Regions from separate parts of the Homo sapiens genome. Here regions 1, 2, 3, 4, 5 and 6 are each linked to region 7. Evidence: promoter capture Hi-C in 16 types of primary human blood cells and fetal thymus (Javierre and others, 2016). All regions are on one chromosome and are shown on one strand. The core of a region is centred on a gene start or on the middle of the fragment in contact, and the rest is flanking DNA. Distances in the headings are between cores, read along the strand shown.

The links. Contacts are between HindIII fragments. The CHiCAGO score rates a contact against its expected background, and 5 or more counts as called.
Region 1: a contact is called between a fragment that was not itself captured here and the fragment with the promoter of PDS5B in region 7, in 1 of 17 cell types (fetal thymus). The highest score is 5.7, in fetal thymus.
Region 2: a contact is called between a fragment that was not itself captured here and the fragment with the promoter of PDS5B in region 7, in 1 of 17 cell types (endothelial precursors). The highest score is 6.0, in endothelial precursors.
Region 3: a fragment that was not itself captured here is called in contact with the fragment with the promoter of PDS5B in region 7 in 6 of 17 cell types (neutrophils, total CD8 T cells, naive CD8 T cells and 3 more); the score reaches 8.9 in neutrophils.
Region 4: a contact is called between a fragment that was not itself captured here and the fragment with the promoter of PDS5B in region 7, in 1 of 17 cell types (fetal thymus). The highest score is 5.1, in fetal thymus.
Region 5: a contact is called between the fragment with the promoter of STARD13-AS here and the fragment with the promoter of PDS5B in region 7, in 1 of 17 cell types (endothelial precursors). The highest score is 5.3, in endothelial precursors.
Region 6: a fragment that was not itself captured here is called in contact with the fragment with the promoter of PDS5B in region 7 in 17 of 17 cell types (total CD8 T cells, fetal thymus, naive CD4 T cells and 14 more); the score reaches 28.8 in total CD8 T cells.

What each region holds. Positions count from the first base shown.
Region 1 is chr13:32,032,629-32,035,389 of GRCh38, forward strand. All of the region lies in intron 1 of FRY (FRY microtubule binding protein), which reads left to right. Among named protein-coding and RNA genes, the nearest start is that of FRY, 2.2 kb to the left of the region's middle. The HindIII fragment of the contact is 409 bases long and covers 1,225-1,633 here.
Region 2 is chr13:32,012,807-32,015,506 of GRCh38, forward strand. No RefSeq gene overlaps it. Among named protein-coding and RNA genes, the nearest start is that of FRY-AS1, 17 kb to the right of the region's middle. The HindIII fragment of the contact is 6,051 bases long and covers 1-2,700 here.
Region 3 is chr13:33,557,805-33,560,539 of GRCh38, forward strand. The region is part of intron 1 of LOC102723406 (a long non-coding RNA gene); the gene reads left to right. It also overlaps a transcript of STARD13 not described here. Among named protein-coding and RNA genes, the nearest start is that of LINC02344, 220 kb to the left of the region's middle. The HindIII fragment of the contact is 3,728 bases long and covers 1-2,735 here.
Region 4 is chr13:31,845,712-31,848,411 of GRCh38, forward strand. The region is part of intron 1 of LOC124903150 (a long non-coding RNA gene); the gene reads right to left. LOC124900336 (a long non-coding RNA gene) reads left to right here and starts at 1,494. Exons shown (of 2, transcript XR_007063748.1): 1 at 1,494-2,700. It also overlaps the pseudogene EEF1DP3. RefSeq lists a silencer at 741-1,260 and enhancers at 1,109-1,610, 1,611-2,110. The HindIII fragment of the contact is 4,650 bases long and covers 1-2,700 here.
Region 5 is chr13:33,276,139-33,278,855 of GRCh38, forward strand. It overlaps STARD13-AS (STARD13 antisense RNA), which reads left to right and starts at 1,416. Exons shown (of 3, transcript NR_046693.1): 1 at 1,416-1,558. All of the region lies in intron 1 of STARD13 (StAR related lipid transfer domain containing 13), which reads right to left. The HindIII fragment of the contact is 6,008 bases long and covers 903-2,717 here.
Region 6 is chr13:33,538,412-33,541,111 of GRCh38, forward strand. It overlaps a transcript of STARD13 not described here. Among named protein-coding and RNA genes, the nearest start is that of LINC02344, 200 kb to the left of the region's middle. The HindIII fragment of the contact is 6,829 bases long and covers 1-2,700 here.
Region 7 is chr13:32,585,100-32,587,799 of GRCh38, forward strand. It overlaps PDS5B (PDS5 cohesin associated factor B), which reads left to right and starts at 1,353. Exons shown (of 35, transcript NM_015032.4): 1 at 1,353-1,494. PDS5B-DT (PDS5B divergent transcript) reads right to left here and starts at 1,346. Exons shown (of 3, transcript XR_001749808.1): 1 at 1,278-1,346; 2 at 705-823; 3 at 1-470. RefSeq lists silencers at 1,038-1,407, 1,418-1,497, 1,918-2,167 and an enhancer at 2,398-2,457. The HindIII fragment of the contact is 4,434 bases long and covers 1-2,700 here.

The DNA of each region.
Region 1 (2,761 bases), core at 179-2,678, 550 kb before region 7:
AAAGACAACCTCTAAGCTGCCGTGGATCTGGAATCAAATTAAAATGAGGCCTTCAGGTGATCAATGATGCCTTGTATTTTCCGAACTGTTTAAAAAGAAAGTCTTCTCTATTTCACTAACAGCCTTTGTACTTGCTTTGGATAAAAGATCAGCAGGTATTACTGATGCTTTATTGTTTTAAATAAAAAAATTTTTTCCCCGTGAAAATTTTAATATTGTATTATGTGCATACTGATTAACCTACCTGTGCTCAAAGAGCTAGTGATTAATTGTCTCCTACACAAATGACCTGTGGCCAAGATTGTTCTTATATAAACAAAACCTGGGCAGGAGAACCTGTGCTGCAATTGCTTTGAGGAAAAGAGCTAAAGTACCTTCAGCCTTAAGGTATTCAGGGATGTGCATCTCTAAATGATATCCATAGAAACCATTTTTTCCAGGTCATTTTGCACCACTGTATACACTATGGGGCTTGTCTGAAGCTGTTTTTCTACAAGTGGGAAGCCATTTGGGAGTAATACTGTTGCCCAAACAGCATTCTTTACTTGTCATAGCTATAAATCATTTAACTTGGACTCATTATTTTTATAATACTTTACACTCAAGGATGAATCTTCCTTTGTCTATCTGCTCTTTGATTAATGAAAAGAATTTGACATACAGTGTTCTTTATGGAGCAGTTTTCCAATAACTGAAAAAACTCACTTTTGAGTTGACATCAGTACGTGGTTTTTAAACATATTTGATTATTCCAAGACCAGACTGTTTTCTTCCATCAATTTTTGTCATTGCATCATTAAATAGAAAATTATGTTGTGACAATACTGAGGCCAATGGGATTTCTTTTAAAAATTTCTCTCCCCTTGTCTATTTTCAAATCACTCTAGATAAAGTATATATTCTCTCCACCCTTCCTAAACTCCTCTCCCCACATACATACTTCAGGAAATGATTCAAAATGACTGTTCATTTCTACTTTGAGAATATCTGTGATACAATTTTGAATTCTTCCAATTCATTCAGCAAATATTTATTGAATACCTACTATGTGCCAGGCTGTGGGGCTACACAAGGTGAATAAGACACAGTCCCTGCCCACTATATTAATTTTTTTATTTCAGAGTAGTGAAGTTGGTGGCTTTCCAGCATTCTTTTGAGGGGGAGAATGTTTTTCAGTCCTTTCTTGAAAGAGGAAGAGGAAATATACTTTGTTTATCTTCTTTAAGCTTGTTACAACACTAACCTGCTTACAATCTAGCATAGTTCTCATTGCTAAGTTTTACATATTTTGAGCAGCAAAGAGAGAAAGGAATTTGTCTGTGTAGAAGGCAAAGTAGAAACAGAAGCCCTAAGGCTCAACATACTCAGTGTAACCTTGGCTGAGAGGATGCACCATGAGGCAAGCGGCTAATTGCACCTGCATGCACCTGCACGCGCATGCCTGGCCTCACAAGTTTGAGAGGTGAGGATGTCTGCCCACATACCTGAATGGAGACTCAGCCTCTTAATTATATGGTGGTGCTTATTTACAAAAGTGCAGTAATTAAAAAGCAATAAAACAAACTCTATAACTATGACTGGCTGTTTTGCAAGGTGTTAGAAGAAAGGTAATTCCATAAGCGTTTCCAGGTAAAGCTTTCCATATTTTTTTAAATGGCACATTGTGGGGAAAATGTAATTATATATATATTAGTCCCCTCCAAAGAATTCACAGGCCAATAAATAGATCAGTCGCTGGCTAGTGAGATGTACTAGCTTTCATTCGATGTTCATTTTGGTGTTCTCCTCTTTATCGGCACGTCTACTCTGTCATGCTGCCCTTTGATTTGAATGGAGGTGGGAATTAAAATGGCCTTGATGTCTGGAAATAAAATGTCCTATGTAGACCTGAATATGGAGGCTTTCCTGTCCCCTTGGATGTCTGTCCTGTTGCTCTTCCCTGCTCTTATCCAGCCTTTCCCCAGCTGTCTAGTGGTTCTCACGGCTGCGGCCCCTTGTTAATCATGGCCACAGCCTCCACATGCCCTTCTCAGTTTAACCTGGAATGCTCCAGTGGTGTCCTCACAGTCAAAGGCTGCTCCCCAGCTCCCTTTTGCCTCTGAGTGTCAGTGGTAGCCACTCAGGACCCTCTTTGAGCTCCTCGTTCATCCTCTCTCATGTTTTTCTGCTCCAGCCAACCAAGCTTAATCTACTCACTCTCCTCTGTATTTAACTAACATGCTCCCAAATTCATGCCTGTACACCCATCAGTCTCCTAATAAGGCCTCGCTTACCTAGAATGTAAAAATGGCAGGGCCAAATGGGCTTCAGATCTCTTGCTCCTGCACTTGCATGGCTTCGGACAGTTAAGTAATCACTCTCAGTTTCCTCATCTGTAAAATGTACGCAAAAATAATGGGTACCTCATAGGAGTAAATGAGGTATTAAGATGTAAAGCACTTAGCACAATACCTAGCACATTGTAAATGCCCAATAAGCATTAAAATAATATTCATGTATTCTAATGCCCTCCTCCCTTCTAAATCCACTTCAAATCGGATGTAGACCATGTCTTCCCTTAGCCTTGGCATCCAAAGTGGGTTATTTTATGAGTAATCAACACTTGCTACACTCTAGAGAAGAGAACTACATAAATAAATGTCAAAATTAGTTGGTTATTTTGGGCTGGTTTTTTTTCTCCCAGATTTACATTTTTAACTTTACCCCTTGACTACTTTAACTTTCTACCTCACTTACTATTAAAATATCCCACTTACCCTAA
Region 2 (2,700 bases), core at 184-2,683, 570 kb before region 7:
GATCACAAAAGGCCTTTCAAGTTGTCTGCCTGATGATTTTTAAAAGGTCAAATTCATTTAAAGTATTTCACTCATAATGTGGGGAAATAGAAGTTGTTCTCAATCTAACCAGAAAGAACGTCACTTACAAACCAGAATGCCTACGTTTTGCAGGGCCGAGGATCCAAGGTGATGTTCATCAGCTCCTTTCACATGGATCTAACCTGCCCATGTAGGCCCACTCCAATCACCTGGAAAGTGTGAGTCCAAGGCCAGAACCTACCCAGGCCAGTTCTGTGATGCCCTCTTTCTCCTTACCTTGGGCATCCTTGGCTTTAATGGCCAATTCTGTACTTGCTGCCCTGGCTCTACTGGTCTCCCACATAGACAGTTCCCACGTTTGTGTTTGGCCATCGAACGCAGTGTTTGGGTAAGAGGCACTCCAGATCTCTCAGCTGCCAGTCCACTGAGCTGATTCTCTTTTTAGTTGGAGTAGGGAGAGTTTAATCAAATTTAGAGAACTGGGGATTGGAATCATCCAGCAGGCACATCACCCTTGGTCATCACAGGGTTACCCATCCAGAGCAGTGGAGAAAATGAAATGTTTTCAGAGGCAGTCAAACTTGACCTTTAATTTAGCATGGACCATAGCTTGTCAAGGTTCATCAGCAGAGCGGTACTGTTGTAAGCATTTGCTAATGTAGACATTATTTGACGTTAATTTACTTGCTAATTTGACACATTTTTGTATAACACAGAATAAGTTAAATCGCAACAAAATTTATTTATTTATTTATTTATTTATTTATTTATTGAATATTCCTTAAACACCTATCACATGCTAGGCATTGTTCTGGGTGCTAAAATTACAGCTGTGAATAAAATAGACACAGCTCCTTCCCTCGCAGATCTTATATTCTGGTGGGGGAGGGCGGGAGACTAAGACCATGTAAATATGTATTATTCAGAGAGTGAAATATGCTTTGAATAAAATATAGAAACAGAAGAAAGTCACAGTGACAGGGGAAGGAAATTTCGCCTTATATTGGGTGGTCAGGGAACATCTTATTGATAGGCAGAGCCTGAAGAAAGAGAAAGAGCAAACCATATGGATACCTGGAGAGAGGAAGTTTGGGCAGAAGGAAGAGCAAATGCAAAGGCCCTGGGCTGGGTCTTCTCAAGGAAAAGCAAGGAGGCCGCTGTGGCTGGTGTGGGGCTGGCGCTTATTCTACACTGCTGCCTTTCAGAAAGTGTAACAAAGAACCAGATGGCTCTTTGCTAGACTTGCCCTATTTTGTTGTGGTTGTTAACTAAAAATACATGGGAAAAGGGTGTTTTTTATACTGCTAAGGTTGCATTCTTGATTGGCTAAGGAGTTAACCCCAGGATGTGTGTGTGTGTGTGTGTGTGTGTGTGTGTGTGTGTGTGTGTGTGTGAATGATATATATACATACCTATACACACACACGTTTGTTTAATGAAATGGGAGAGAAGTTGAGACATACCTTTTTGTGCTTCAATGTGAGCCTGTGAGAGTTAGTAGTTTAGCTGATACAAAACCCCTTTGTAATCTATTATGCAGCCTGTTATTAGCAATCAGTCCTACAAGTGCTATTATTTTCATCCTCCAAGTAAAGCATAGGAGTTGGGTAAGGGTCAGAGTAGTTTGAAATTTGGATAAGAACTCAAATTCTTTACTGACTTCCCTCACACCTACATCTAACTTCTGCAGGAGCTATCCCATTAGTTGTGAATGATTTAATAAGCAAAACCTGGGGTGAGTTTACCTCCTGAGGCCAGTTCAGTTTTTAGACATAGTTGGCTTGCCCTGAGCTCTTCTTGGCCTATTTCTGGGCATTATGCATCCTGAGAAATATCGGGATTTTTTTTCTGTTACAAAGCGAACACTTCTCATGCTTCCAAGTGTTTACATGTATCAGGCCCTAAGTGGTGGCCCTATCAGGAGCAGAGTGTGCAGGCGATGTTGTGCAGGGTGGGCATGGCTCAGCCTGTGCTGTCTGTGTGGTTCCAATGGTTCCAATATCCCAGCGGGGCTGTGCCTGTCCACCAGCCTGCTGGTTACCACAGCAGATAACATAGTAGACTCAGGGTTTAAGAAGAACCACCACCCAGAGCAAATGAATAAAACTGTAACTGCTTCATGGCTAGACTCTCTGAAGAAATGCCTCTGATATAACCTCAGTTGGTCCTCAGAAGAAAGTTTGCAAAAACAAGAACAATGTCTGAACTCATTCCTTGACCATAACCATCAAATTTAAATGCCACAGTTTCTCCATGTGGGAAATTCAAAGACATTGTGGACCTTTGCATGATGTGAAGGTGTGTTAATGAGATAGCTAGCTCCTTTTTGGAAAAGAAAACCTCAGAGTAAGACATAAAGTCTTTCTTGGCTGCAGCTGTTCTTTCATGAATGATCAGCTAGGTAAGCATGTTCCAGTAAAATTAAGCCTCACCATTGACAAGTGTTTGGAGGGCATTGTAAGATTCATGGATACATCCTGCGTCTGCCTTGTTGTTTTCTACGGGTTGAACATACGGCATTTAAGGAAATTTTGTGGTTAGTAACAGAAGATTTCAAAATTAATCTCTAGAATTTATATCTCTTAGATTAGATATTTTAATAAAAACACAATATTCCATACTGTCATGTGATTGCTAGCCTTTGGTTTGTATGAAAGAATTGTTTCACTCTTTCTGTAG
Region 3 (2,735 bases), core at 74-2,573, 970 kb after region 7:
CGTTGCTAAGAGGCAGGAAGGTATACCTATAGAAGGTTTCCTCAGAGGCCATAGAGAATTTAGGGAGAACGAGATGTTGACATGACCCTGGTCCCTAACTTGAAATTATAGCTGTGAGAGTTTCCTTTTCTGTGCATCGGAACATTCTCAAGGGCAATGACAGAGAAGCACAAGGGAGTAAGCTGCCATATCATTTAAACCAATAAACAAACTATTTCATGAAAATAAAAACCATTTAAGATTGTAAAAAGCCAAATGTAGTAAAAAGTCCTTTTGTAATAAAGGTGGAAATACAATCTCATGTATAGAACAGAAACAAAGTAATACTTTAAGAGGAAAAAAATAGTTTCCAAATTCTCCCAAGGTTTTTTTCACTCATAATCTTTCTTTCCATCACTTGCTTGTTCTGTGACTGTGAGCAAGGTACCTGCAAGGTACATACCTCTCTATGCCTCAGTTTCCTTATCTATAAATTGGGGATGATAATAGTGATATCTGCCTCACAGGTTGTTAAGGTTAAATAAGTCAATATTTTAAAAACAAAAAAGTACCTGGAAAGTACTAGGGACAATAAATGCTTGTTAAATAAAATTTAAAAATAATATATTTACTAAAGCACATTTATATACTTTCTTTTAAAATATGGCCCTGTTGGTAAGGTGTTTTTCCCAGCTTGCTTTGAACTATTTGTATTTATTTTTTGAAATTAAAAAAATACCTGCCTATCTGTACGGTAGAGAGAAAGAAGGGAAAGAAAGAAGGATACAGAAAAAATGAAGGAAAGAAGTGAAAGAAATAGAAAGGAATTACTAAGTTTTCTTTAGGAAAAGGGGCAAAAACTTTGACACTGCTCAGAAGCTAATGTTTCACTGATTCTTCTCACTTTCTACTTTCTGTTATGCTATCCTAGGGCCTGAAAATGGTTATAAATACAATAAGAAGTCACTCCCATATAATTCTAAATGTTTATTCTGACAAATATAATAAAATGATTATAGCAGTACTCTGTCTGCTAATATAAGGCTACTGCTATTGTCATGCACAGAATTCTCCCAATATTAGAGTTTTATTTTTTGTTATCAGTAATCCTCAGGTTCAGTGTCATCCCTTTCTAACCAAGTTACTCATCTGGAAATTAGTACATATCCTGAGAATTGAAGACAATACAGTGTTAAAAGTAAGAATAGTTGACTTTTCAATTTCATGTTTTTAGGCATATGATAGGCAGGTTTATATTATAATTTTTAACTAATCTGTCATTTGAATTCTCTATTTTCCCCCAAAAAATCTTTTCAAATGATTAGCAAAGACTGTTCGGTTTCTTCCTTTGCCCTGTCTCAAAAAATTAGAGGAAAGGTTTGGAAAATGCTTTTGAAGACTAATACTTTTATGTAACTATTTTCTAAACTACATTAACCTGCTACATTTATTTATAATGAGTTTTTAATAATGTTATGTTTTGTTTTCCCAAAAGTATCACCTATTTTATTCAACTAAAAGTTCTATTTATATGTAATACATAAAACTCAGATATACCTTAGACTTGAAAGAATTGGAATAAAGTTGGAGAATAAAGAAATTAAGGGACCTTCAAACTTTATATAGTTGGTGTTAAATATTGATGTCTTTCCAAAATTCATATATAGAAGCCCTAACTCCCAATGTGATGATATTAGGACTTGGGGTCTTTGGGAGGCAATGAGGTTTAGATGAGGTTGTGAGGGTACATCTCCCATGATGAGATTAGTGTCCTTATAAGAAAAGGAAGAGGCCAGGCTCAGTGGCTCACACCTGTACTCCTAGCATTTTGGGAGGCCGAGGCGGGCAGATCACAAGGTCAGGAGTTCAAGACCAGCCTGGCCTGAACATAGTGAAACCCCATCTCTACTAAAAATACAAAACATTAGCCAGGTGTGGTGGCATGCGCCTGTAGTCCCAGCTACTTGGGAGGTGGAGGCAAGAGAATCTGTTGAACCCGGGAGGTGGACGTTGCAGTGAGCCAAGATCACGCCACTGCACTCCAGCCTGGGCGACAGAGTGAGACTCCATCTCAAAAAAAGAAAAGAGACACTAGAGCTTCTTCTCTGCCATGTGAAGATACAGCAAGAAGTAGTCAGCAAGGCAGGAAGAGAGCCCTCAACAAGAACTAAATGTGCTAGCACCTTGATCTTGGACTTCCCAGCCTCTGGAACTATGAAATATATGCCTGTTATTTAAGCCATCTAGTCTGTGGTATTTTGTAGTATAGCAACTGTGCTAAGACATTCAGATTTTCAGGTTCTGAGAGCTTAATATGAAATAAAAAACTGTTGCTGACATGGTAGGTAATATTTTAAGGATGGTTTGTATTTTTTCCCTATGGCTGTCCACATAGCTACCCCACACTATTGTCTTATACTTACAAGCAGGACATTAAATATTAGTGCAACATTAGTTCTTACCTTTAAATGATTGTTTTTCTCTAGTGGAACTTCAAATTGGTCTGAAAACTTAAATACATAGGTTGTAAGTTTAAACTTTTTAAAAAGTTAAACTGTCCTTATATGGACTGCTGGAAAGCATAATATCCTAAGAAAACGAAGTAAATTATTTTAAAGGGAAAAGGATTAGTCTTCAAAATGGGAAAAACTTGAGTTCATTTTTTCCCCTTTTCAACAGAATCTAGGATGGCAAAATGACATAGGAAATGCCACCTCAAAATCTAGACAGTATACATAATCAGTCTTACATCCCGT
Region 4 (2,700 bases), core at 50-2,549, 740 kb before region 7:
CGGGGTTTCAGCATGTTGGCCAGGCTGGTCTCGAACTCCTGACCTCGTGATCCACTTGCCTCTGCCTCCCAAAGTGCTGGGATTACAGGCGTGAGCCCCGTGCCCGGCCAATACATTTTTAAACATCAGAATTATTGAGATACTGTTCACATTCCATAAAGTTCAGCCCTTTAAAATGTACAATTCAGTGGTTTTTAGAATATTCAGAGCTGTGCATCCATTCCCACTATCAAATTGCAGAACATTCTCATCACCCTAAGAGAGTCCCATCCATTAGCAATCACTCCCCAGCCCTCCCACCCCAACAACCACTAATCTACTTTCTATCTCTATATTTTTAATTGATTGTTTGCTATACAGTATACATAGCATTACATATGAGAATGCAACTCTTCTCTGGACAGAAAAGAAATAAACGCTGAGGCAGCTTTGATTTAGCATTGAAATACAGAATCAATCTGTAACCAGCTCTATGACCTTGGACAAGTTGTTTAACTGGATTTAGTTTCTTCATAAGATAAAGAAGTCTAGAGGTGTGTAAGGACACCTTCAGGTTAAAAAACAAGCAAAAACAAAAAAGCCTTGGTGACAATTCCAGTGCTTCACCCTAGACAGCCTTTCCTGGGCTTCCGTGAGAAACGAATTTATACAAATAAGATTTCACACCACAGCTGCCGCGGCCACTGCCCTCCCCGCGCAGAGCTCTAGAGATGTTTTCTCTTTTTCTTTTCTTTCTGGCCGTCTATTTATCTCTGGGCTGGCAAGGAGAGGGAGAACTGCAGCGCCCAGGAGCGGAGGCCGAGCGCGCCGGTGCCCGCAGGAAGCCTCGCCCAGCGCGGACCGCACCCTCCCGCGACGCCCCTGGAGAAGCCGCCAGTCTCTGGGCCGCCAGCAGCGCGCGCCCCCGGCGTGGGAGGAGCGCGGCGAGCAGGGGCGGGGCCAGTGACTCCCGCAGCCAATCGGGGTGGCGGCGCGTCCTTGGAGGGTCCGCAGCTCGCCCGGCGCGCACGGGGCGGGGCTCCGCTTGACCGTGGCGGTCGCCGGGCAGCAGAGCCCGGGCGCAGCGAGCGCAGCGCAGCGCAGGGAGCGCAGGCGGTGGCGGCACCAGGTTCCCGGGGCTCCAGCGCTCGGCGCAGCGAAGTAGCCTCCGGCGGTGGCAACTACGGCGGCGGCGCCGGGGCGATGCTGTGGGTCTCGTTGGGCGCCGGTGTCCTGGCCTCTTCCTCAGGTACCCAGCCCCGCTTGCCCCTCGCCCCGGGGAACCGCAGCGCCCGGGAGGTAGCTTTGTGAGGCTGTGGGCTCGCTGCCGGGGAGTGGGTGGGTGGGGCCGGGCGGGGCTGTGCGGTCTGGGCCGCCTTCCCTCGGAGGAAGAGGGTGGGGACCGAGGGAAGCGGGCGGGGGTGGGAGCGCTGTCTCCGGGCCGCCGCTGATGGCATCCCAGGGCTCCGTCCTCCTCCTGCCTCCATGTGGGTTGAAAGAGGTTTTGTTCCAGGAGAAAGTTTGATGCCTAGACTTGAGGAGCCAAATTCGGGGGTCCCTGAGGTCCGCGCCTTTAAAGAGGCAGCCCGCCCTGCCGTGTGAGCCCGTGCCCTGCGTGTGGGCACGTGGGAACCCGTACCTGAGCAGCATTCCTGACACGGGACCTTCCTTGAGAAAATTCCCCTGTGGAAGAATCCCCCTTGGGGAGGGGGCTTTGTGGAGATGGCACCCAGAGCCCGCCCAGTGTGGGTTTTGCTTGAAAACAGTGCAGCAGGTAGTCAATGCCCCCTTGTTATCTTCCCGTAGAATGGACTCGACCAAGATCTATGATCTAAGAGCTTCAAAAATTAAATCTACCTTGCCATCTAATTAAACATCCCCAAACACTAGTGTGTTCAAGGTGCCAATAATTACTCTGTCGATTCTTTAATATTTTCTTATTGCCCATACTTTCAGTTGGCTTTTGCAGTTTTGGAAAGGGTGCTGTGGAGCATACCAAAGTGGGTAGAAGTTATGGCTCACCTCTCAGGGTGATAGCCCAGTGCAAAAAAATACAGAACACATGCCTGTCCACTCGAAGATAGGAGAAGGTTTCAGCCTTCAAAGCAAGATAGATTAGGTGGGGGTTATTTGCTTTACAAAACTTCCTCCAGTGCAGAGAAGTGATGCTTAGAGTTAAAACTGAGTTTTACACAAGTTTGTAGGAACACATCTATCATAAAGCGGCTCAGGGTAGAGGTAGTGACAGGTAGAGGTAGATATCGCATAGTCTTGCCATTAAGCAAATCTAAAAAAATGCATGTTAAATTCTGCATCATTCTCACTGATCACACGTGGATGCTCACATTTACATTTTTCCTTTCTTATCAAGATGTATTCCTACCATAAGACAACTTCATAATTCCCTCAAAACGCCTTAGCCAAGGCCATTTTGTGGTCCATATAATTTACCCCATGCTAAAAAACGTATCTGTAAAAACATTTACATTTAAGGGAATTTCCCTAGTGGTGACACAGTAGTGTCCATACATTGAGCACATTTTATTCACCAGACACATTACTAGGTGTGGACGTATATTAATACTTTAATTCTTGCAATCACTCTAAGGAGGTATTATTATTAGTTTCCCTGTTTTTGAATTTAAAGAGTTCAGGTAATTTTGCCAAGATTATTGGGCAAGTAAGTGATAGAGGCAGGATTTGAACCTGGATCTGTTTGAC
Region 5 (2,717 bases), core at 166-2,665, 690 kb after region 7:
AGCAAGTGGAATGGAATGCTAATATGAGGATCCAAATTTTCAGGGAAGGAGGTCAGTAGACTTTCCTATCTGAAAGAGACCAATGGTGAAAATGAAGGTGGTTTGATGATTAAGAACCTGTTAAACATAACGCATGGGTTTACAGAAGTCCAGACAGTAAGGGCCTTGCGATGGATTTCACACTCTATTTTGAGAAATGCATGTAGTGGGAAATGTGTTGTGTCCCTCAAAGCATCTGGAGAAGATTCTTTAATTTTCTCAAATAAGAACTCCGTCTATTTGAGTGAGAATCGTTGGAATATCATTAACGCAGGATTTGTGAATCGTTCTTATTTCTTATAATAATTTTACATATTATACATAATTTCAGGGTGGTATAACTCTCAGAGGAAAATGTGATTTTATGACTATACATACTTTTTGTATCCAGTGTGTCGTTTGGTGAATATAAATGTATATGAAATGCTACTGTTCACTCATAGAGATTGAATACTAATCAAAGGTTCCTGCTGTCCATATGTATGATTTTCAGAAGTAAGCAGGAAGGGGAGAGTTGGAATGCAGGAAGAGAATGCCTACTTCAGCTCGAAATCCTGACATGTAAATTAGGTACTTGGTGACTGCCAAGTTCCTTTCCAATCTCTCTGCATTGTTTCGCCCTTGTGTTTTATCCAACTGTTAGGAGGCAAAGCAACACAAATCATTTGTATTTTAGTAAGCTCTGCCTCTGTCAGACCTTTAAAATTCTCAGGATTCCTATGCTGTGTGAGGAAAATCATTTGACAGTCTAGCCAGACACTGTAGATCTATTTCTATTGATTTTCTTTTGCTAACAGCATTAGCATTTTCTGTAATTTTGAAGTTATTTTCCAAGTTCTCCATTTAGATTATTTTAGATCCTAAGCTTCTGAAAAAAAAAAAAGAGAGAGAATTCATGTCTTTTCAAACAGTAGTATATAAATTTTCATGGTACTTGGTCCTTCCCTAGACTGCACCAGTCCAGAATGACCACCATGGTCTTGAGTGACTTCACAGTGTGGCGGCTTGGGCTAGGCAGTATGGTAATTCCCTATGCATTCTGTTGGAGTTTTTGGATGTTGTGTGATTTCTCTCCAGAAGCGTCATTCATAATGTGAATGCTAATGTGTATCTCTTTGCCAGCAGGAGGAAAAACATCTGAAGAATATATTTGTAGACTTCCTGGAAATTGATAAGTTGTCTCCATAACTAAAGCAAGCAGATTTTACTAATTAGAATTATCTACATAATTTTACTTCATTCACTTCTTTCTGTCATACTAGGAGAGCCTTTATATAACCAAAGATATTTTTGGACCATGAATTCAGAAATTCTCGGAGCCACCCATCAGTGCCTGAGCTTCAGTGAGTCCATATCCCATGTCACCCACGGCAAAGGAGACTCTAAGACTTCTGAAGAGTTTCTTGCTTCTTTCCTGTGGGGCAGTGACTCCACTTCCCAGCAGTAATGGAATATCCTGAATTAGCTACATTAATGTTAGAACCATTTGGACCTCACCCAGGACTTCAACTACATTATGGTAAGACAAAGCCAGAGCTAGAAGGCAATAATTTCTTCCTTCTGGCTCAACAGTACCTATCTTGTAGAGTTATTTGAGGAATGGTTGTATTCTTGATGTTATAATTATTAACTCTACCCATATACCGACTCAGCTTTCTGTTCTGCCTACCCAAGATAGAATCTTTGTGTGGTTGTTAATTTTCATAAAAAGATGGTCATCTGGCCTTTACTCAGTTGACTTTTAAAGTATTTGTGGCTGGCCTTTTTGGAAAACATAGAATACTTGCAATGTTCCTCTCCAAAACACAACTTCAAAGTATCTACTGCCAAATCTATGCAAGAAGTATATTCAGAGAGAATTATCTAAGGGAAGCGTAGGCCACATACTCTCCTAGATCAGCATTTCCAAAATGTGTTCCCCAGGGAAAGCTGGTTTTGCAATATGTGACTTCCCAGTATCCTGTGAAAAGTGGTTTCAAGATGAAATATACCAGTTTAAACACAGTTAAACTACTTTGTGCAAGATTTTCCTGAGCCTTTCATAAGTCTGAATTTCCAAGGGAAAGGGAATGTAGCATTTCCAAAAATGACTTAACCACAGAAATGTTTTCTCCCTTGAATATCTGTCTAATGGGCCTAGTGTTCTGTGAAGCAGACTTATAGAAATTGCCTGTGGATAATCTCCATGCTATTTCTAGGTTAAGACAGAGAATCTGAAGACTGCATACCTGACCTCTCGTTTTTACCTACCCACCCACCCACACCCAAATATTTCTACTGGACTATAATTTATTGTGACGCCCCCATTTCCACTGCAGGATGTTATAAGAAATGAGACTCACTACTGAATTCACAGCAGGCATGGTTGAAGGCACCATTCACTATAGCTTGCAGTGTTCCCTTTATGAGATTTGTATGAGAAATTCCTCTCATAGGTCAAGTTCTTGGGAGAAAATTCTCCCAAAGAGCAAGTCCCAGGAAAATCTTGGCTGGTAAGTTCTTACCTTAAGAACAGGGAAAATCTTCCCTTGGTTGTGTTTTCCTCTTTGCTTAGATCAGGGAAGCTCAAGCCAAATTTGCAGCCCATTTTTGATTATTATTCAAGGCCTTACATTTTATATTTCCATGTGATATATCTTCCTAGTTTTACCTCATTAATTGGCCAACATTTCTCTTTT
Region 6 (2,700 bases), core at 167-2,666, 950 kb after region 7:
GGCCTAACACCTCGGCTTTTAGCTGGGACACAGAAAGGGTCACCTCAGGAGTAAGAAAGAACCTGAAATAGACGAGACCTAACAAAGTCTAAAAACCAGTTTGAAATAATCTCACTTCCATATTAGATTAAGGTGCTCTGCCCTTAGCCTAGCTTCCTAATAGAAGCAAAAGTAAATCCTACAAATACTTCCATAAAGTAAAAAACACCACTCAGAGCCCAGTATTTTTTTTTTTTTCATAAACAAAGACAACATTTCATAAAGAATTTCTGGGCATACCAGGAAACAGAAGAAAAAGATAATGGAAACAAGATCCACAGATGATCCAAATACTGGAGTTAATGGGCACAAACTATTTAATTTTTTTTTTTTTTTTGAGACGGAGTCTGGCTCTGTGACCCAGGCTGGAGTGCAGTGTTATAATCTCGGCTCACTGCAAGCTCCGCCTCCCGGGTTCACACCATTCTCCTGCCTCAGCCTCCTGAGTAGCTGGGACTACAGGTGCCTGCCACCATGCCGGACTAATTTTTTGTATATTTAGTAGAGACGGGGTTTCACCGTGTTTGCCAGGATGGTCTCAATCTCCTGACCTTGTGATCCGCCCACCTCTGCCTCCCAAAGTGCTGGGATTATAGGCGTGAGCCACTGCGCCCGGCCTTGCATTTATTAATACTAGAGACGTAGAATCTATGCATAAGAAAATTCTAGAACTAAAATAAAATGATTCAACAACTGAAAACTTAAACTAAAAAAATACACTTAGAATAAAAACCATGAAATGTGTTGGAAGAAACTTAACAATGTATGTGCAATACCTGTATGCTGAAAATTACAAACAGAAATTAAAGATCAAAATAAAAGGAGATATATGCCATGTTCATAGATTGGAAAACTCAGTATTTTTAAGATGTCAGTTCTCTCCAAGCTGATGAATAAATTTAACAGAATCCCATTCAAAATCCCAGCAGATGTTTTTAGAAATTGAAATGACAATTTAAAAATTTATATTAAAATGCAAAGGACTTAGAATGGCCAAAGTAATTTTGAGGAAAAAAATACTTCCACTATCTGATTTCAAGACGTATAAAGCTACAGTAATCAATACAGTGTGGGACTGGGTTAAGAACAGACATATTTATCAATGAAATTGAATAGAATAGAAATTCAGAAGATCGGCAGATTTTTAATAAAGGTGCCAAGGTAATTCAATGAAGGATAATCTTTTTAACGAATGCTACCAGAATAACAGGATTTCTATTTTGAAAAATATGACTATCAACCATTATTGTGCCATACTAAAAATTAAGTGGATCGTAAACATAAATAAGATATATTGTGAATCTCAGAAATGAGAGGATTTTATGAACAGCTTTATGCTAATGAATATTTGGATACGTACAAATCCCTACAAATATACAACTTACAAACAAAAGCTGCTCTTTAAAAGACACTTTTAAGAAAATGAAAAAGCAGGCCACAGACTGGGAGAAAAATATTCACAACATATACTTCTGACAAAAAAGTCATACGCATAGTATGTAAATAACTCCTACAACTCAATTACAAACAACTTAGTTTTAAAATGGGCAAAAGTTTTGAACATATACCCACTTAATGGCTAAAACTAAAAACTAAAAATAGCAAGTGTTGGCATTTGATAAAAAGACCTGTCACCCTTTTAAACTATAGTAGTTCCCCCTTAGCTTCAGGGGAAATGTTCCAAGAACCTAGTGGATGCCTGAACCTCAGAGAGTACCCTACCCTAAATATATTATGCACGAATTTCTTTTTCTTTCTTCATAATTTCACAGATAGAAGACTGATTCTTACCAACCACTTGGTTCCTAGTGACCTTAGGTGATTCCTTAAGTCGAGAACTTTCACCTTCCACTTAAAGGAAGCACATTAAGGCTTCTTTTGGCATATCCAAATTGCCAGTATCACTACTATTGGGCCTTGGAGACATTATTAAGGAAAATATAGGTTATTTGAATCCAAGCTCAGTGATATGGTGATAGTTGATAACTGTGATAGTGGATGCTGAACAAAGGGAGGATACACGTTCTGGGAGGCACAGAGAGAGGCAGCATGAGATTTCATCACACTACTTAGAACTTCTAGCAATTTAAAATTTATATTTCTGAAATTTTCCATTAAATATTTTTGGACCTCGGTTGACAGTTGGTAACTGAAACTATGGAAAGCAATACCATGTATAAAGGGGGTTCCTATACAAGGATGTTTGATGAGTGCAGACACAAATAGATTCGATGGTGGGAATACACAAAAATTCTTGGCTTATGCTCACAATTCTTTTTTCAATAAAGTGTGAGGCAAAGTCATTAGTTGAGGAAGTTGATAATTTGAGGAAGGAAAAGAATGAGATATTTGGATTACAGAAGGAAAGGGCAAAGTCAGTAAAGCAAAGGAGTAGGAGAGCTGATCAATATGCAGAGCCAATTTAGGTGTGAGATCACACTAGTCCACCCAACAGTTAACAGGCTGAGCCCAAGCTCAGAAAAGATAAATGCATGCAGGAGTTCATCCATGGTTTGAGTTTTGCCAGGGAAGTGCTAAAAGTGAGGGATAAGAGTTGAGGATATTTGCAAAGGAGTCAATGCCACTATTTCTGAATATATGTGTACTCTTTGAACTGTGAAGGGCTATGTTACTGTAACTTTATAGTATAATGGTAGCAAA
Region 7 (2,700 bases), core at 103-2,602:
AACAACCAAAGAGGAAAGGTTTTTCTAGATCTAGACATCCTACTCTCCCATACAAGATTTATGTTGATGGAACAACGATGTAAAATAAGAAAATTCCTGAGATAATTTTAAAAAGAGGGCAGAAAAAACTCATAGTAGACTTCATCGAGGAATGTATAAAATGGGTAGAACCTGGAGTATTCAGTGGCAAAATCTTGGACACAGGAATACAGTAACACAACATATTGGTCTAGCAAGCACTGGAGGAGACTGAGGCGGAATTGTCCAGCGAATCCCACAAAAATGGAAATGAAGAGGTCTCAGTATCTCTAGGTGCCCGGGTCCGATGGAATACCGATGTACATACCTTTTCTAACACAGTAGCATTAGTTTATATATCAGCATTACCTCTCTTTTGTTTCAGTTGATAAGTATCCTACTGTAATCCATTCATTCACACTTTGCTTGTTCATTGTTGAAACAAATTCTCCCTGGAACAAAATTCTAGTAACCAAATACATCATATCAGGGGAAACTTCCTTACAGCAGGGATGGTATTAAAGTAAAAAGAGGAGGAAGTCCCTTCTTCAGCTCTGGCAGGGACCCGGCTGGGGAGGAAACCTTCCCGCAAGGTAGGTGATCTGCTGTGGTGACCAGGCTAAACCCACTCTACAGCTGCAGGAGGGACTGGCATCCCTTAGAGGTGAAGAGGGGAGGAGACCCACCTCCTGGAATGTGTCCCTGTGGTCTCCAGATGATTTCTTCCTCTAATAAGGACAATTCTGCCAAAGGAATGGAATGCTTCGTCACAGGCTCAATTACTCTGTCTCCGCCAGCCTACCACCTATAAACAATTCCTCAAATTAGGAAAGCGGGGAGATTTAATAAAGACATAACACGTAAAGTGTAGGAAAACTATTTGTATGGCATTCCGAGACGACTAGGTCAGAGTTAACAAGTAAGGAGCAAAGTAGTTAATAATACCAATTCTGTTTACCCATCACAACACCTGTGCTGAATGTCAGGGTTTAAAAAAATCTCCCAACCTTTATCTAAAAAGATAGGGCTACGTAACAATCGGTGTGGTTTTTGTCGGTAGAGGTCTAGGAAGCCGCAAGAGTAGTGGACGCCTTGACAGCTGCCCTTCTCGCGGGCCCCGCGGCGGCGTGCCCGTGTGGTTGCGTGCGCGCGGACGGGGCGGGGCTGAGGAGGGACGTGCGCGCGCGCGGACGGGGCGGGGTGGAGCTCGGAGGGCGGACGCGCTCGGGGCCGTCTGGTCGGCAGGGGGCGCTGCGCACCCATGCCGCGCTCTGCCTGCCCCCGGGTGCTGTCCGCGGCGGTTCGATTGGAGCAGCCGCCGAAGAGCGCTTGGCGCCATTTTGAAGCGGAGAGGAGGAGGAACGGCAGGGCTGGCTGCGGAAGGGGAGGGGGGGGGAGAAGGCGATTGGATGCGGCGGCGGCGGCGGATCCCGGAGAGCCCCGGAGTGAGCGGAGTAGCGAGTCGGCAACCCGGAGGTAGGAAACAATTCAGTTAACGGAAAGAAAATGTCTCTCTTCTCTGGCTGCGGCGCTCCATTTTTCAGCGGCCGCCACTGCCGCTGTGTGCGTGTGTGTGGCAGGGCTGAAGCGCCGCCCGCCTGGGTGCCAGGCGCGACTCGCCTCCCGGCATCGGGGGCTGCAGCGGGTGGCTGCCTGGCGGTGGCCCGGGGCGGGGGTCGCGGGGCGCGGGCCGGCTGCGCGGTGGGGGTGGGGAGGGCCCCGCGGCCGGCGCGCGCCTCCACGCCGCGGGTTCTGCCGCAGCCTCTGGAAAATTAAACTTGCCGCTCTGATCCCGGCCGGGGCGGCGGCGGCGGCGGGCGGTGACCTTGCGCGCGGGCGGGGGTCTCGGGGCCGCCCGGCCGCCCGCGCCCTCCCGCCGCCGCCGTCGCCGCCGCCGCGCCCCTCCCCCCGCGCCCCGGCCGGCCGGCGGCTGTTTCCCGGGCGGCAGGCGGGCGGCGCGGTGCTCCTGTTGAATCCTCCCGCGGGCGGGCTTCTCCCCCTTCCGGGCGAGGGGCGGGCGGGGACCGCGGGTCGGGGCCGCGGGCGCTCTCGCCCCCGCCGCCGGGTCCCCGCGCGCCGCCTGGCCTCCGCTTCGGGCCAGGGGACGGGCTGAGCGTGACATTTTTGCACTGTCCCTCGCCGCTCGCCGGAGGGAAATCGCGCTCACCGCGCCACCCCGAGTGGTCCCCGAGCAGCCAGTTGAGGAAGAGCCCAGCACTGGCGTGGAGGGACTCCTCCCAGGCCACAACTGGGTTCTAGCTTTCCTTTCAGAAGGAACGGCGGGGAAAATGGTGTGCAATTGTGACTCGTTATTGTTTTTACACTGTTATTTTAATGTTACTTTAAAAGTTTTCGGTCCGGAGAAAAACCTTGTTTGTTGTTGTTGCTGCTACTGCTGTTGGTTTTTGGTAGAGACGTGAAAGCTAACTCTTAAGTAGCTCGACAGTTATTTTGGACGAATGACTGAAACCAGAAACGCCGCCCCTCGCCTTCGGAGCTGCAGGCTGCTGCGTTCCTTGCCGCGGACGGGGCGAGCTCCGGGAAGGGTTGGTAGAGCAGCTACCCACCCACTCCACGCGCGTCTTCAACAGCCTCTCTCCCCCAGCGAGGGTTAACCCTTTTTTATGTCGAAGAAAGTGCTTCTCGTACTTTTAATAAGAGGTGATGGATGGGCAGTGGTGC